Linked DNA regions of Homo sapiens: region 2 is linked to region 1. Evidence: promoter capture Hi-C in 16 types of primary human blood cells and fetal thymus (Javierre and others, 2016). All regions are on one chromosome and are shown on one strand. Each heading gives the region's core, a stretch centred on a gene start or on the middle of the fragment in contact. The rest is flanking DNA. Distances are from core to core; before and after follow the strand shown. Region 1 holds the start of DIP2A (disco interacting protein 2 homolog A). Region 2 has its middle 15 kb from the start of S100B.

Region 1 (7,413 bases), core at 2,152-4,651:
GGAGAGCCCACGTCAACAACAACCACCACATAAACTACATAAGCCAGCATTAACCTGTGGAAGCGCCCTGGAAGCAGGTCCACGTGTGACTGTGCCTAAGTAATCACTGACCTATTTTGGCCAAAAGAAAAGTGTCAGGCCAGTCTAGGAGCAGGGAAAGAAGCCAAGAAGCCAGAGCTTCCACCTCCTTGGCTGCCACTCTACTACTCTGTTCTCTGCTGTCTTCCCTTTAACACTTTTTTTTGAGACAAGGTCCCACTCTGTCTCCCAGGCTGGAATGCAGTGACACTATAAAGGCTCACAACCTCGTCAGGTGATCCTCCCACCTCGGCCCCTCAAGTAGCTGGGACTACAGGCACACACCACCATGCCCAGCCAATTTTTTTTTTTTTTTGGAAGAGGCAGGGTCTCCCTATGTTGCCTAGGCTGGTCTCAAACTCCTGGGCTCAAGTGATCCTCCTGCCTGGGCCTCCCAAAATGCAAACATAACAGGCCTAAGCCACCATTTCTGGGCTCAATACTTTTTTTGTTTACCCCCTTTCTCAGCTTAAGCTATTTTTCGAGGTTCCTCTCCATGTTACATAATCTTATACCTTTACTTACCTATACATCCCCTACATATCTCTAAGATGACAATAGCATAAATGGATCCAACAGATAGGAAACATTTCTTTCATTTAAGTACTTGTGTTCTGTCGCACAAATTATAAAGTTCTTTGAGGAAAGGATTCAATTGTCAATGCCTAGCAAGCACTCAAACACAACTACAACACAAAAAATTGAGGGAATAATGAATACATTGGAGCAGAAATTAGGAGCAATACGCAAAAATATGTTTGAAATGCACAGAATCTAAACTGCGTATATGTGATTTTCCCTAAAGAGCCTTAACAAATGCAGTACAGTAGATCCTGTCAAACCCATTCCTAATTTAAGTTTGTCAGACTGCCTAGGAGCATCTAATCACCAAGAATTCTCAAATCCATCCATTTCTTTCCTTTTTTTTTTTTTTTTTTTTTTGGTGAGAAGAGACAGGTTCTCGCTCTGTTGCCCAGGCTGGAGTGCTCCAGTGCTCAGGTGATCCTCCTGCCTCAGCCTCCCAAGTAGCTGGGACTACAGGTGCACACCACCATGCCCAGCTAATTTTTTTTAATACTGTAGAGACAGAGTCTTGCTATGTTACCCAAGCTGTTCTGAACTCCCGTCTCCAAGCCAACGTGGCCTCCCAAAGTGTTGGGATTACAAGCATGAGCCACTGTGTACTCAGCCTGTACTTCCATTTTTAAAAATGTGCCACAAGCCAGGCACGGTGGCTCATGCCTGTAATCCCAGCACTTTGGGAGGCCGAGGCAGGCGGACCACCTGAGGTCAGGAGTTTGAGACCAGCCTGGTCAACATGGTGATACCTTGCCTCTACTAAAAATACGAAAATTAGCTGGGCGTGGTGGCAAGCCCCTGTAATCCCAGCTACTCGGGAGGCTGAGGCAGAAGAATCATTTCTACCTGGGAGGCAGAGGTTGCAGTGAGCCGAGATCACGCCATTGCACTCCAGCCTGGGCAACAGAGCAAGACTCCGTCTCAAAAAAAAAAAATGTGCCACATGTCACAACATTGTTAAAAATCTGAATGCTGAATTCAAAATAGTTGCAAGTACATGTTGTATTATATGTAAAACAAGATCACAACAGCATCTACCTCCCTAAGGTTGGCAAGGATTAAATGACTTACTGTATGCTAGTGCATATTATTTAGATGTTTTGAGAAATAACTACCCCAGACCCAGCAAAATCTTATCAATCTGAAACTTAAATTAAGGATAATAAGATTATTTAAAAAATGGATTCTAAAAGCTGAAAATGCATTTAGATCTCAAAAACAGAGTAAGAATCAATTACATGCTTTTCTTCAAGGACTGCAAGTCCTTTCTGACACTGGAGAAGAACTTAACTCTTTCCCAAAGACAGCCAAAAGGAATATCAGGACACAGGCCTTGAAAGGGATAACATCCAAATGGGAAATGCCACCCACCACCTCTGAAGCCAGATTACTCCAGTCTATTTTTATCAACCAACCATTTATACGACTTTTTTTTTTTACTTTAAAAAATTCCATGAGGGGGCTAACAACTCCTAAGTGTTATGTGCTTTGCATATATTAAGGTATTTTAGCCTCATAACAATCCAAAATGGAAAGTGCTGGTATAACCCCACTTTATAGATAATAAAATGAGGCACAGGGTGCAGCTCCTAGAGTATGAGGCGCGCGGCAAGGGCTCCCAGCTCCAAGGGAAGTAGCTGCCTGCGGACAACGGGCGCAGTCATCCTGGTGAAGCCCAGACCAAGCCCAGACCTACAGCCTTGAGAAAAGCGGGGCTCACAGCTTGGGGCAAAAGTGGTCATTCCTCTCAAGATTCTCACACCTGTCCAAACGACCTAGTCAAAGCCAGTCCTTGGGGTCGGATCCCATTGGGGGAGCAGCTGGGGATAGGGAAAGGTCTCCAGAAGTTTGGCAGGCGTCCCGGGGTGAGGAGTAAGGGTCCCAGGTGTGAAGGGCCTGGGGGGAGGAGTCCTTGTATGGGGGAGGGGTCCTTGTATGAGAGGCGGGGCAGTGGTCCCTGGTTTGAGGGGCCGCGCGGGTGTCCCGGGGCTGAGGGTCGGGAGTCCGGAGGGGCAGCGCGGGGCTCCCAGGGTGAAGGGCGGGGTCCCCGGGGTGAGGGGCCGCGCGGGGTTCCGGGGGTGAGGGGCAGGAGGTCCCGGGGGTGAGGGGCGGGAGTTCCCGGGGGTAAGGGGCCGGGGTCTCGGGGCGAGGGGTCGTGCTGGGGTCCCACATGAGGGGCGGGGTCCTAGGGTTGAGGAACGGTGTCTCCGGGGCGAGGGGCGGGTTCCAGGGTAGAGGAACCGGGGTCCCGTTGAGGGGCAGAGGTCCCAGGGGCGAGGCCGCGTGGGGGTCCCGGGGGTGAAGGGCGGGGGTCCTGGAGTGAGGGGCCGCGCGGGGGTCCCGGAGTGAGGGGCTGCGCGGGGGACCGGGCTGAGGGCGGGTCGCGGGGGTTGAGGGCGGGGTCCGGCTCACCTTCCGACAGCTCCAGCTCCAGCTCAGCCAGGCTCTCCCGCACCTCGGCAGGCAGCGGCGCCGCCTCCAGCGGGCACCCGCGGTCAGCCATGGCCAGGCCGGCTAGCGTCCGGGCAGAGGCTGGAACCGGACCGGGCCTGGCGGCGGCAGCGCAAACCTCGGCTACGTAGCTCCCCTCAGGCCAACAACCTACATCCGCCAGGCGAGGAGCGGGAGGCGGCGGGACAGGGGCGCGGCCAGGACAGCAACGCACCCGCGCGGGCACGAGCGCGGATGGCTCCGCCGCGCCGCCGCTGCCCCGCGCGCTCCTGAGCGCCCGGCCGGCCCTACACGGGAGCGCGTGCGCGGCGGGAAGGGCGGGTAGCGAGCGCGCGTGCGCAGTGGGTCTCGGGCCCGCGCAGCCCTCCCGGCCCCGCCCAGCAACACCAGAGCCTCGCTTCCATTGGCCCCGAAGACGCGTCGATGCCGCTCCGGGCTCCCATTGGGAGAGGCGGGAGAGCGCCGCTCCCGACAGGCTCTGCGCTGGGCCTGCTTGAGGGTGGCGGGCTTGAGGCGGGCAGGCTGCTTAGTTGCGGCCCGAGGCGCCTAAGTGGGGATGACCAACCCGTGGGCGTTGGCGCTGACCCCTAGGCGCCGCTGGTGGCCCCGCGCGCGGCCCTCCGGCCAGCCCCGCCCCTCTCGGGGCTCCTCCTTGGTCCCCGCGCCATGGCGCGTCCGCGTTGACCGCTGTCTTCCCTTTCGGGCTGTGCTGATCGCGAACGCTGCGCAGTCCGTGGTGGCGTCGAGGCACCTTTCTCGTGCCTTTACCTGTGTTCACTCCTTTGCTTTAAAAAACAGCCCTAGAAGTACACATCGTTGGCCCCGAAGGAGCCCCAGCAGCCATGTCGGACCGCGAGGTGACCTTGGAGGGCGGGAGGACGGACGAGGGGCCTGGCGGAGCTAGACTGAGAGGGCGCCGCCGGCGTCCTGAAGGCCCTGCTCCCCGAATGTGTGGGAGTGTGTCTGACGGTGCGAGGGTGGCTGTGGCGGGGCCTGAGCAGCGTGTCCGTGTCCCGATGCCGCCCGCCTGTTACTGAGTTAGGCAGGAGTGCCCGAGTCTGGCGAACTTCAGCAGTTCTCGTTCCAGAGCTCCACACGAGGTTGGCCAAAGCTTTGCGGGACTTACATACCCTTCTTCCTCCGCCCAGTCCTGCTTCCTTCCCCTTCCTTTCACGGGTGTTGATACCATGTCAACATCCTCGTACCCCAAACTCAGTCGCAGCGTCTGCTTCTGGAGAAACCATTCTGCAGCATTAAAGCTGGTGAGAAGATGGGATTCGAGGCTGCATCACTCACCAGTGGTGAAGTAGGAGGGTGAACTAGTGAAATGGAATCCACGAGTGGGTGAAGTATCAGACATTTCATATATGGTGAACGTAGTAGATAAAAGGAAGGAAAGGGGGATTGGATAGCTATTGCTTAGTGCCAACCGAGACTCTTAAGAATAGTGGTCAGCTGAAGGCAAGCAACAAACAGTTGTAAGCCAGTGAATCTGTCCCGTTACATATAGAGAAGCTTCATTTACTGCAGCAGGTCAAAGACAAGAACCAGGCCCAGGAATTAACATCCCTGTTTGACTGAACTCCAAAAATAGCAAAACACCCAAACAAGGCAATACTCTTCCACTAAGTTTGGATCCCTGCTAAGAAAAGATGAGGCTGGGCACAGTGGCTCACACCTGTAATCCCAGCACTTTGGGAGGCCAAGGCGGGAAGATTGCTTGAGTTCAGGAGTTCAAGACCAGCTTGGGCAACATGACAAAACCCCATCTCTACTGAAAACACAAAAAATTAGCCGGGCATGGTGGCCACGGCTGTGGTCCCAGCTGCTTGGGAGGCTAAGGTGGGTGGATCACCTGAGCCCTGGAAGTCAGGGCTGTAGTGAGCTGTGACTGCACTCCAGCCTGGGCAACAGGAGTGAGACTCTGTCTTTTAAAAAAAAAAAAGAAAGAAAAGAAAAGCCCGTCATACATGGGTTGGAGATACCTGGGTAGATGCCTTCAAAGGTTTTGACTCCCCAAACTGCCTTAAACCTTTTTTTCGTAGACAGTGTCTCACTCTGTTGCCCAGGCTGGAGTGCAGTTGCTGGATCATGGCCCACTGTAGCCTCAACTTCCTGGGCTCAAACGATCCTCCCACCTGAGCCTCCTAAGTAACTGGGACTACAGGTATGTGTCACCACACCTGGATACATTTTTTATTACTTGTAGAGGCAAGGTCTTGCTATGTTGCCCGGGCTTGTCTCAAACTTCTAGGCTCCAGTGAGCCATCACACCTGGCCTGCCTTGAACCTGAAGCCTGCCGGGGTGGCTCACCTCTCCTATTAACCTGACACTACTCCTCCTCCCTCCACTTACTGCTCAGTAGATGTATAATTATGGTTGTTTCTTTTGCATTATTCAGCTGGAAACAATGAGATAGAAAAGAGAATATAGCTCCCTCCCCCTCAGAAGAACTGCGTTATTAGTTTGCTGGGGCTTCAGTAACAAACTGGGCAGACATTTATTGTCTCCCAGTTCTGGAGGCTAGAAGTCTGAGATCAAAGTTTTCACAGGGTTGGTTCCTTCTGGGGCTGGGAGGGAGAATCTGTCTCATGCCTCTCTCCCAGCTTCTGGTGGTTTGCTGGCAGTCTTTGGTTCCTTGGCTTATAGAGGCATTGTCCCAGTCCTGCCTTTATATTCACATGGTGATCTTGTTGTGTGTGTCTCTCCAGACGAAGGCATAAGTAACATCATTGACAAAGGTCATTCGACATGGGCCTCTTTTTAGAAGGACACCAGTCATACTGATTAGGGCCCACTCTAATGAGCGCATCTTAACTTGTCTACAAAGACCCATTTCCAAATAATGTCACATTCACATTGACCAGGGGTTAGGGCTTCAGCATCTTTTGAGAGGGACACACTTCAGCCCATAACAAGCTGTACCACCCAGCCAACATGTACTGACAGGAGCTGGGAAAGTTTGGGGCTGGATTATGAGGGTGCTTGATGAAGGGAGCTGGAATGTAAACTTGCATAGATGTGTTTATTGAAATACGTGATTTAACACCTTGGCAAAGAGTGGCTGCAGACTTCCTGCAAGGATGGCTCCTAGAATGGCGGTATAGCTACTGCTGCCTAACAAATTACTCCACACTTCGTGGCTTAAAACAAGAATCATTTCTTATCTCTAGGTTACTGTGGGTCAGACATAGTGGGGATCGGTGATCTCTCTAGGTTACTGTGGGTCAGACATAGTGGGGATTGGTTATCTCTCTTCCACAGTGTCTGAGGCCTCAGCTGGAGCAGTTCAGAGGCTAGAGGTTGGAATGAGTGAAGGTTCATCTGCTCGAATGTCTGACAGCTGATACTGGAGATTGGCTGCAGCCCAGATTGGGGATGTCAGCCAGCACACCCCTACACGGCCGGTCCCTGTGGCCGAGGCTTTCTCACAATATGATGGCTGGATTCCAAGGGCAATCTAAAGACAAAGGACAAAAGAAAGCTGTATCCTTTTTGTGAACCAGCCTCAGAAGTTGCATACCATCACTTCGGCTACTTCCTATTTGGAAGAAATGAGTCACTAAATTACCCATATTCAAAAGGAGAGGAATTAGGCTTCATCTTCTAAAGGGAAGAATATCAAAAAATTTGCCAGTATATTTTTAAAACACCACACTTGGAAAAAGCCATGGGCCATGGTAAGCAAAATTGAAATGGCAAAATTGCTATGGCAGACAGTGGTGGAAGGGAGTAAAAGGTTCAGGGGTGTGGGCATGTTGAAATTTATATACTCCGTGCATCTAGAAGACATTTGAGACGATCATATTCCACATGAAGGTGTAAATAACACGTCATTTATAAAGATCATTAGACATAGGATGATGAAAGGGGCACTGATGTCACTAAAATATTCAGTGATGGCTCATCTCTGTAGGCAAGAATGACAATAGAAAGGCTGTTCCAGAACTTGGCTGGGTGATAGCACTGGGGATGATAGGATCCTAAGACAAAAGAGGCCATTCTGGGACATAGTGGGGACCAAAGAAAAAAACCCAAGAAGCCAAAGGCAACACTTAGCTGGCAGAAGTCAGAGGATTGCAATTATAGCAGCCAGCAGGGTCTGAGTGGCAGCCAAGGGGACCTCACTTGTATGGTTATAGAACTGGTCAATAAACATGGCATCCCTGGAGGCAAAACAGGTGGGCAGCTAAGAAGGGTACTACTCAGCTGGCAAAAAAAAAAAAAAAAAAAAAAATCCATCCAGGCACGGTGGCCTGTGCCTGTAATCTCAGCATTTGGGGAAGCTAAGGTGGGAGGATCAC
Region 2 (4,323 bases), core at 1,824-4,323, 160 kb before region 1:
AAAGAAGTCTCTGTCCCTCTGCTATTTGCTGTTCTTTGCTTTGCCCAGTCTGACTCCTGCCAGCTCCAGGTTCTGCAGACAAGAACAGTAACTTTTATAATAATAATAATGACTCCCAAGTGAGTGCATTGGGCCCTTCACGTGTGTCTGTATGTGTGCACATGTATGTGCGTGTCAATTTCCTTTACTCCTCCTACAGCCCTCTCAGGGGTGCAGCTTTTTTTCTGTCTTTTACTCAGCCTGAGAAAGGTTGTCGTTTGACAAGGTTTGTTCAGAGGTCGGATCTGAATCCAGCTCCAAGGCCCCAGCACCCAAGCCCTGACCCCATGGCTGCCTGCTGGCTGGGAGTGGCATTCTTTAGAACAGGAAAGGCAGTGAGTTCTCATTGCATCAATACTTGCATTTGCTACAACAGAAGCTTTTTGTCTCTTCCTCACATTCCTTTAGAACACAAGCCTCCTTTTCTGCCTGTGGCCATCGGTCACTGGAGTCAGCCTCGTGAGTGGCTTGGTGGCGGATGGCACCGTCCTTTGTGGGAGAAAACAATGTTGCTGCCCAGGCCTTTCTGGAATGACCCCTTCCCACCCCCTGACCAGCCCCAGCAAGGCCCGGGGCTGGCTGCCTAGTTGATTGGAGCCAAGAGTTTGCTGAATGGATGAAGGGAGAAGGGACATCCAAGTGACTGAAGAAGATCTTAACAGAAGATTGATATATTCAAATAGAGGCCCCTGTTGACCCACAAGCTCCTTCGTGCTCTGGCCTGGGCAGGCAGCACTGTTGCTTGGGAAGGAGAGCCCCTTCCTGTCATGGCAGGTTGTCGTCTGGGAACCTGGAGCTACATCATCTCATTTCCCTCCATCTGCAGAGTAGACAGAGGGTGAACCACATGGGTGCCTTTGGCATTCAAGGTGCGGTAGACTAGACACCATGGGCCTTGAGCCTCCATCACCCCCTCCCAATTACCTCCACAGTTTCACAGGCTGCAATGCCAGGCAGCTCTCCACAACGCCATGACCACGAGTCAAGTGATAGCTCTTGGCTAGTACAGTAATGTCCTGGGCATTCGCAGAGTCATGGCAGCGTTGCTCACAATGGCACCCTTCTTCCCAAGCCAAAGAGTGCATGGTCTCACTCTCCTGGGAAACACCGTGGTGATCGCCCTCCAGCAACCAGCTGCCTGTTGGCACCCTTGTTGTCTCCTCAAGCTTTTTTATTATTGGGAGGAAGAAGTAGTACACATTATTTTACAGGTGGACTAGTGACATTTGTGATGTCTTATTATATTACTCTGGGGATTTTATATCTTCAGAAAGTAACTACTCATTTTTGGTTTCCAGTTCAACATGTAAGGAGCTAAGAAATCTTTGCTCCATCCTAACAGCAAGTAAAAAGCTGAACAAACTGAAAAATTAACAGCCCCTCTTAGATCCAGTAGAGAAGTGAGGTCACAAGACAAACTATTGTTCCCAACATTGGAGAGACAGACAGGTGGGGAGAGAGAATCACAACTTATCTCCAGCAGAAACCTCCAGTGCCAGGGTAGGAAAACCCGAAAAATTGCTGGAGGCTCAGTGTGGCAAGTCTGAGGGACAAAAACCTCCAGGGGGACCCCCGTCCTGAGGGCCCCTACACTTTTGTGAATTTTACCTCCAGGAGCTCGACCAGGTCCTCACAGTGGATATTGGAGAAAGATCCCCTTGTGCTTCAGCAGGGGGAAGAAAAAAGAAAACATCTTGAGATAGGGCATTCTGTTCTTAACAATGCCTGTCCTCAGGAGCCAAACTGGCTGGGTTACATCAGAGCCTGACCTACCTACTCCAGGTGGCTCTGGACTTTCATGCAGGTGAAGGGAAATACACAATTTCAGCCCCCTACAGCCATCCTGTTCCACTCACAGGATGGGGGAGCACTTGTGAAGGTCACAATTCAAGGGGGCAGAGTCACCACAGACCTAGACCTACTCATAGGACTGTAGAATGCTTTCCCTCCCCCGCACCTACCACCGCATCACTAAAGGTCTTTTTACAGCAGTTCCTTCTAGCCAGATTTCATTTCCAGCCTTCAAAAAACATGACAAGGCACACTAAAAGACAAAAACTAGTTTGAAGAGCCTAAAAAAGCATCACAAGCAGAGTCAGATATGGCAGGAATGCTGAAATTATCAAACCAGGAATTTTGAAAAGCTATGAGTAATATGTTAAGGGATTTAACAGAAAAAGCAGATGGCATGCAAGAGTGGATGGGCAACAAAAGCAGAAAGATGGAAATTCTAAGAAATAATCAAAAATAAATGCTAGAGTTTTAAAACCATTGTAACAGAAAGGAAGAATCCCTTTGATGGAGTCATCGGTAGACTCATGGCCGAGGAAAAAATCTCTGAGAGCTGGAGAACATGACAATAAAAACTTCCAAAACTAAAAAACAAAGAGAATAAAAGCTGAGCGGGAAAAGCAGAACATAATATCCTAGAACTATGGGATAGCTGCGAAAGGTGTAACATACACATAATGAGAATAAAAGAAGAAAGAGAGAAAGGAACAGAAGCAATATGTGAAGCAATAATGACTGAGAATTTCCCCAAGATTAATGTGAGACACCAAATCACAGCTCCAGGAAGCTCAGAGAACACAAATAGGATAAATGCCCTTCCCCCAAAACTAGGCATATCACATTCAAGCTTCACAAAATCATAGTTAAAGGAAAAATCTCAAAAGAAACCAGAGAAAATAAACACGTTACCATAGAGAAGCAAGATAAAAATTACATCTAACTTCTCCTGAAAAACTATGCAAGCGAGAAGAAGATGGAATGAAATAGAGTCATATATCACTTAATGATGGGGATACATACTGAGAAATGTTTCATTAGGCAATTTTGTCCTTACGCAAACATCATACAGTGCAGTTACACAAACCTAGCTGGTACAGCCTGCTATATACCTAGGCTGTATGATACAGCCTGTTGCTTCTAGGTTACAAACTTGTCCAATATGTTACTACTGGATACCGTAGGCAATGAAACACAATAGTAAGTATTTTTATGTCTAAACATAGAAACAGTACAGTAAAAATATGATATAAAAGATTTTTAATGATATACCCATATAAGGCATTTACGATGAACAGAGTTTGCAGAACTGGAAGTTGTTCTGGGTGAGTTAGTGCTTGAGTGGTGAGTGAGTGTGAATGCCCAGGACATTACTGTACTCTACTGCAGACTTATAAGCATTTCTGTACTCTACTGTAGGCTTGCAAGCATTACTGTACTCTACTGCAGACTTATAAGCACCACTGTACTCTACTGTAGGCTTATAAGCACTGTACACTTAAGCTGTGCTAAATTTATTTATTTATTTATTTTAGAGACAAGGTCTCGCTGCATTGCCCAGGCTGTTCTTGAACTCCAGGCTGTTCTGAACTCAAGCAATCTTCCTGCCTCGGCCTCCCAAGGTGCTAGGATTAGAAGCTTAAGCCTCTGCAGCCAGTCATACATTAAATTTATTTTAAAATATTTAAAATATCCTTGCCGGGCATGGTGGTTTAAGTCTGTAATCTCAGCACTTTGGGAGGCCGAGGTGGGTGGATCACTTGAGGTCAGGAGTTCGAGACCAGACTGGCCAACATGGTCAAACCCCGTCTCTACTAAAAATACAAAAATTAGCCAGGTTTGGTTGCGCATGCTTGTAATCCCAGCTGCTTGGGAGGCTGAGGCAGGAGAATCGCTTGAATTTGGGAGGTGGAGGTTGTAGTGAGCCAAGATTGCACCACTGCACTCCAGCCTGGGCAACTGAGCAAGACTCTGTCACAAAAACAAAAACAAAACAAAATTATTCTTTCTTCAATAATAAATTAAACTTAGCTTACCATAACTTATTTACTTTATAAACTTTTTTTCTCATTGACTCATTTGTAATAACACTTAGCTTAAAATACAAACACATCGTATAGCTATACAAAAATATTTTCTTTCTTTATATCTTTAATCTATAAGCTTGTTTCCATTTTTAACAATTTTTAAATTTTTTACTTTTTAAACTCTTTTTTTAACTGAAACACAAACACATTAGCCTAAGCCTACACAGGTCAGAACCATCAATATCACTGTCTTCCACCTCTACATCACATCTTTTCCCCCTGGAAGGTCTTCAAGGACAATGAGACATATGGAGCTGTCATTCTCTATGATAACGGCACCTTGTTCTAGAATATGTCCCAAAGGACCTGCTCGAGGCTATTTTACTGGTAACTAACTGTTAACTAACTTTACATAGATAGATAGATAGATGATAGATAGATAGATAGATAGATAGATAGATAGATAGAT

The links. The method cuts DNA at HindIII sites, captures the fragments that hold promoters and counts their contacts. A CHiCAGO score of 5 or more calls a contact.
Region 2: a contact is called between a fragment that was not itself captured here and the fragment with the promoter of DIP2A in region 1, in 2 of 17 cell types (total CD8 T cells and non-activated CD4 T cells). The highest score is 6.3, in total CD8 T cells.

Annotation. Positions count from the first base shown.
Region 1 is chr21:46,454,879-46,462,291 of GRCh38, reverse strand. It overlaps DIP2A (disco interacting protein 2 homolog A), which reads right to left and starts at 3,401. Exons shown (of 38, transcript NM_015151.4): 1 at 3,070-3,401. The coding sequence starts at 3,160. It overlaps LOC124905046 (a long non-coding RNA gene), which reads left to right and starts at 3,579. Exons shown (of 2, transcript XR_007067915.1): 1 at 3,579-3,965; 2 at 6,374-7,413. RefSeq lists enhancers at 2,208-2,277, 4,048-4,187 and silencers at 2,998-3,067, 3,258-3,807. The HindIII fragment of the contact is 4,653 bases long and covers 1-4,221 here.
Region 2 is chr21:46,617,779-46,622,101 of GRCh38, reverse strand. No RefSeq gene overlaps it. Among named protein-coding and RNA genes, the nearest start is that of S100B, 15 kb to the right of the region's middle. The HindIII fragment of the contact is 788 bases long and covers 2,680-3,467 here.